Regions from separate parts of the Homo sapiens genome. Here region 1 is linked to region 2. The links are contacts of gene promoters, found by promoter capture Hi-C in human tissues and cell types (Jung and others, 2019). All regions are on one chromosome and are shown on one strand. The core of a region is centred on a gene start or on the middle of the fragment in contact, and the rest is flanking DNA. Distances in the headings are between cores, read along the strand shown.

The links. Contacts are between HindIII fragments. The study calls those that stand out against the background at their distance.
Region 1: a fragment that was not itself captured here is called in contact with the fragment with the promoter of HSPA4L in region 2 in 1 of the 25 tissues and cell types used here (lymphoblastoid cells).

What each region holds. Positions count from the first base shown.
Region 1 is chr4:128,048,426-128,051,232 of GRCh38, forward strand. No RefSeq gene overlaps it. Among named protein-coding and RNA genes, the nearest start is that of LARP1B, 11 kb to the right of the region's middle. The HindIII fragment of the contact is 3,104 bases long and covers 1-2,807 here.
Region 2 is chr4:127,780,398-127,783,578 of GRCh38, forward strand. HSPA4L (heat shock protein family A (Hsp70) member 4 like) reads left to right here and starts at 1,925. Exons shown (of 19, transcript NM_014278.4): 1 at 1,925-2,260. The coding sequence starts at 2,154. RefSeq lists silencers at 1,286-1,455, 1,736-1,805 and enhancers at 1,946-2,095, 1,995-2,987, 2,596-2,675. The HindIII fragment of the contact is 5,760 bases long and covers 1-2,927 here.

The DNA of each region.
Region 1 (2,807 bases), core at 49-2,548, 270 kb after region 2:
GGCATGAGCCATCGTGCCTGGCCCCTCTTTTTTTATTTTCTTAATCATTAAAAAAAGTAAAATTCATTCTTAGTTTGTTCCTGTATAAAAATAGGTGGTAGGCTGGGCGCAGTGGCTCACGTCTGTATTCCCAGCACTTTGGGAGGCCGAGGTGGGTGGATCACGAGGTCAGGCGTTCGAGACCAAACTGACCAACATAGTGAAACCCCTTCTCTACTAAAAATACAGAAATTAGCTGGGCGTGGTGACACATGCCTATAATCCCAGCTACTTGGGAGGCTGAGGCAGGAGAATTGCTTCAACCTGGGAGGCGGAGGTTGCAGTGAGCCGAGATCGCGCCACTGCACTCCAGCTCGGGCAACAGTGTGAGACTCTATCTCAAAAAAAAAAAAAAAAAAGGTGGTAGACAGATTTGGCCCATGGGCCATAGTTTGCCAAGGCCTGATCCAGACAATCTATATGACCTTGAATTGTTTTCTAAGTAGTATATTTTTACTAGTGCTTATGATTGGAATCAGTTATATAGTAATAAATATGGTTGTTCATATATGTGACATATAGTAATAAAAACATTGTAAGTCAGAAAAAAAGCCAGTAGTCTTCTTACCCTTCATGTTCCCTATGTATGATTTTGTAATTAGAAAAATATTGGGTCACTGAGTTATGCAGACCTCCAAAATGTTGACACATTTCATTACACAACATCAAAAATTAGGTTCATTAAAATCACTACTGAGCTCATCAGAAAATCTTTAAGCACTAGGAAGCTGTTGAGTTCATGGTAATGGTTAAAAGTTTTCCAAGCTTCTCATTTTCTCTTGAAAACTTGAAGGTTATCACTGACAACAAATATTGTCTAGTTGTTGCCACTGATGTGACAGGCTCATTTCATTCATTTTTTAGAAGATGTCTGCCAAATTACCTAAGCACAAGTAAACCTATTTTGTTATCAATAGTTTTTTTCTTTTTTGTGTGTGTGACAGAGTCTCGCCCTGTTCCCTAGGAGTGTAGGGGCGTGATCCCAGCTCACTGCAACCTCTGCCTCCTGGGTTCGTGTGATTCTCCTGTTTCAGCCTCCGGAGTAGCTGGGATTACAAGCACCCACCACCACACCCAGCTAATTTTTGCATTTTTTAGTAGAGACGGGGTTTCACCATGTTGGCCAGGTTGGTCTCGAACTCCTGACCTCAGGTGATCCGCCCGCCTCGGCCTCCCAAAGTGCTAGGATTACAGGTGTGAGCCACCGTGCTCAGCCCCATTTGATCTTATTTCTAGGGGATCATGACACTGAAACCACAGAGAAGGGAATGCAGTCCTCTCATACTACATTGTTCTGCAGTAAGAGATAGCTATAAACTCAAAATAACATAAAGCTGTTTGTGGATTCTTAAATTTTCAGACCAATCTATGAACAAAGCACAAAGGTATATTATGGTTACTCAATAGAGTATAAGTGATTACTCCTGACAATGTAAGGAAAAGGAAGAAATGTCCAGGATGTGGAGACCTCTCATACGCTGCCAGTGGGTGTGTGAATTGGTACAAGAGTTTGGAAAATGACTTGGCAATATTTGGAACAAATGAAGATATGCAGATCCTATGACTCAGAAATTCTATTCCTAAAATGATACCCTCAATAAATTGGCACATGCACACCAGAAAAAAAAATGTTCATAAAAGCCATGTTTACAGTAGTCCCAAATTGGAAGCCGAAAAATTCATCAACAATAGCATAAAAAATTGTGATATAGTCATTCAATGAAATACACATACTATAACAGAATAAATGACCTACAGCTACTCTCAACTTGTATGAATCTTAAAAACATAATATTGAATGAAAGAAGCAAGACGGAAAGTAGCATATGATTCCATCTACATATAGTTTTAAAAATAGGCAAAACTATGGGATGCATGTTTAGTGACAAACCATAAAGAAAAGCAAGAAATTTGAGGAGGCCAAGGCAGGAGTATAGCTTGAGCCCAGGAGTCCAAGACAAGCCTGGGCAACGGACACCTCATCGCTACAAAAATTGAAACAAATAAAAAATTTGCCACGGCCGGGCACAGTGGCTCACGCCTGTAATCCCAGCACTTTGGGAGGCTGAGGCAGGTGGATCACGAGGTCAAGAGATCGAGACCACGCTGGCCAACATGGTGAAACCCCGTCTCTACTAAAAAAAAAATACAAAAATTAGCTGGGCATGGTGGCATGTGCCTGTAATCCCAGCTACTTAGGAGGCTGAGGCAGGAGAATTGCTTGAACCTGGGAGGTGGAGGTTGCAGTGAGCCGAGATTGCATCATTGCATTCCAGCCTGGTAACAAAGTGAGATTTCGTCTCAAAAAAAAAAAATTTGCCAGGCTTGGCAGCTCATGCCTCTGGTCCCAGCTACTTGAGTGGCTGAGGTGGGAGGATCTCTTGAACCTGGGAGGTCAAGGCTGCAGTGAGCCGTGATCGCAGCACTACACTATAGCCTGAACAAAAGAGTGAGATCTTGTCTCGAAAAAAAAAAAAAAAATGGTGTGTGTTGGTGGGGGACACATGGGAGTTCTAATAAGAGGGTTGAATGTAAAAATAAAGAAAAGCAGACAACCGTTGGAAGGTAGAACAAAGGGTAGGATGATATATTCTCATTTTATAGAGTGGCAATATAAGAAGCTCTTTCTAAAATTGGTGAAATACTAAGTAAATGTTCAAATTACTTAAATTATTTAAAATTTCCAAGTAAACAACAAAAATATCAGAAATTGGGAGGAGAATCGAGCAGGGGCTTATGTAAGTGTGTTAAATCCTCATGTTTTATAG
Region 2 (3,181 bases), core at 675-3,174:
CTACAACCCAAATCTGTGTGACCCCAAAGCCCGTCATGGTTTTAACCACTGGGTACTCTCACGTCCTGCCAGTAATTGTAAGGAACGTGATGATAACACCACTTTGCTCCTGGCCTCAACTTCCTTTTTACTTTGATATTTTAAGTGGTATTTTTAATAGGAAAAAAAAAAAACATTCTTACACCCTCAAGTTGTATAGACAACATGGATAAACTAATGGAATTAAGATAAATTAATTGTACTAGGAGAATTTCAGGATATTCTGGAATAAATCTAGATAGTGATGGCCGATGTCAGAAGAGGTGTGTGAGGAGAACTGGTGGAAGTCACAGGCGCCCAGCAGGACCAGGGCCCAGGGTTCAGTCGCAGGGCAACGCCCAATCCCTGTTCTGCTCACGAGCTGCCCGCTGGGACGCCGAGTTCTGCGGTGTCTCAGAGCGCAGCTTCACCCAGGGGCTCCACGTCTCCTGAGTGCTCATGAAGGGAAGAGAGGCCTGATTGATTTCTTCAATGTAGAGACCAGAGCCCAAGCAATACTGTACAATCCAGTTGCCTCAGTATTGCCCTTGAAAATGGATTTCACGTTCATTCTAACAGCAGCAGGAACTATAGCCACCCTTGCTGCTGCTGCTGCTGTAGCAACATTATTAATAGTAAAAAATCTAAGTTATTTAAAGAAGTGGACAACTAGGGATAATCAGAATACTAAAGAATCTAGTAAACAAAACAAACAAACAAAAAAACACGCCTGTTTTCAAGATGGATACCAAAATGGAACAGGAAAACACACAAAGAATTGGATGAGAAGGAACAGAGACTAGATGAAGAGGACGGGGAGGAACAGGGAACAGACCAAGGACTGGCAGAGAAGGAACAGGGCACACACGTAAAAGTGAACGAAAAGCAACAAGACAGCCAAATTTCTTAAGTGTAACATAAAACTTGGTTAATTACAGACAGGCAACACATGCCGATCAAACCAAGAGGGAGGGCGCTGGACCACACTGGGCTCTTTTTTGAGGACCACAGGGCAGCGGCTGGAGGCTAAAGCACAGACTTGGCTGGTGTGAGTGGCACACTTAATTAAGGTCACTTTCCTGTAAAACTGGTTTCCAGAGACAAGGGTCAGCGGCGGGGCCAGCATCTTTTAGAAAGGTGTGAGGAAAGGTACGTGGAGGGAAAGTTGTCAGTGTGATCTTATTTCTTGACAGAAGTTTGACTTTTGATATTTCAAATCCTGCTGATGAAAAAAGAAAAAAACCTAACATGTGCTCATCCCGCTTTCGCACAAGAGTCTGTCCCGGGCTCGGCAGCTCCCCCGGGGCTGGACAGGGCGGAGCGGCGGACGTCGGACAATGCGCGCCACCTCACAGAGCCGGGCGCGGCGGGCCTCCAGCCACAAGGGGAGGGCGCCGGGCTGCACATGGGCCCCTCGGGGAGGCGAGGCCTGCGGGCGAGCCCTTCTGAGGGCAGGGGGTGAGGGGGCGGCGCCCGCCAGCCAGGACAGCATCCTGCCGCCGTGACAAGCACGCCTCCGGTTGCCAAAACAACCCAAAAATGTGCCTCAAAACACGTTCGCAAAGCCCCGGGCCGGCCGGTCGCCTGCCTCTCACCTAGCCCGACCGCCCGACGTCCTACTGCCGAGCGAGGGCGAGCAAGCCAATGTGCCTAGCCTCCTTTCCCCGATCCTCCCCGCCCCGCCTTCCCGCTTCTCCCGCCCCCGGATAGCTCAGCAGCCTCCATTTTCCAGATCTTTCTCGAACCCGCAGCTTCTTGGGCAGCCGTTGCCCGAGTGCTGACGGAAGCGGCCGAAGTCCGGGCCCGGAGCTGGCTCGGGCGCGGAGCGGAGGCTCGCGCGCCTCCCGGGCAGCCGAGCGCGCAGGCGCAGGTCCCAGTAACCGCCGGTTGGAGGCGGCCGAACCGCAGTAGGGAAAGACCCAGGCTGCGGGACGCGGTGCAGGCTGCGGCGCTGACGGCCTCTGCTCCTTCCGCGGGTTTCCGACTCCCTGCCCTAGATTTTCTGCTTAGCGACTTGGGGTCCCCTCTCGTTTGCTTCTGGTAGGAGTCGCAATCCCAGCAGCAATAGCCCAGAAGAGGACACGGTTCCCGTACCGAAGGGTTCAGTACCAGCAGCCCGACCATCACGCGGCGGGATGTCTGTGGTTGGCATTGACCTCGGCTTTCTCAACTGCTACATTGCTGTCGCGAGAAGTGGCGGCATCGAGACCATCGCCAATGAGTACAGCGACAGGTGTACCCCGTAAGTGCCTCTGCTGAGCATCACCTCGACCCTAAGAAACGTTTTTCTCTCCCGTCCTTAACGTTTGTCCTGTCTGCTCGCTTCCTCGGATTTTCCCCTAACGTGCGCCGAACCCCGAGATGACAGGTGCAACCCGTCAACCGCAGTCCCTAGAGACCGCCGGGTGGCAGTCGGACTTCCTCGCCCCGCAAAGCTTCTTTTCCTTCAAGGACGAGGGACCGCACTAGTTTGCGCAGCTCTCTTTTCTGTACCTACGCACGTCCCCTGCCTCGTGCCGCTGTCCCCCAACGCCTCTTTTGCTTGCGAGGAAGAGGTTGCTGTGGGACAGCCCCTGGCGTCCGGAATATTGAGAAAGATCTCCGGTTGCCTCTAACGAGGTTTACGTGGGATTATCGGCCCCGCGCCAGCTGCCCTCCTTCCTTTCCCCGTCCCTCTGGGTGACAGCTTTTTCTCAGAAAAGTAAAAAGTCAGCTTCGGCTGCACACGTCAGAGATGAATTGCAGGTTCATCTGGCCCCGAAAGCCTTTTTTTTTTTTTTAAGGGCGGGGAGTGAGGCATGTGGGGTTTTACAAAACCCAGTGCCCTTGAGAACTGCAGGTAATGGAGCCGGTTTACAGGGCCAGGTCAATGGTGCATTGATAGGGAGAGCCTCGGGATGGGAGTCACTGGCCTTGTGCATTGGTAACTACGTCAGTTGCTGGAATGCGGCGGGGTTGGGTCGGACCAAAAGCGTGTTTCTGCAGAGTGAATTGCCGGAGTCGGGGGCAGCTGTCCCGTATAAACATGACTGTGGAGTGATTCTATTATGAACGCTTAATGAAAGGCTTAGGAGGAGCGGCGTTATGTCATGGAAACATGTTTCCACATGTTCCGTTGTTTCTCTGGCCTGGGAAGTTTGTTGGCAAGGAATATAATGAAGTA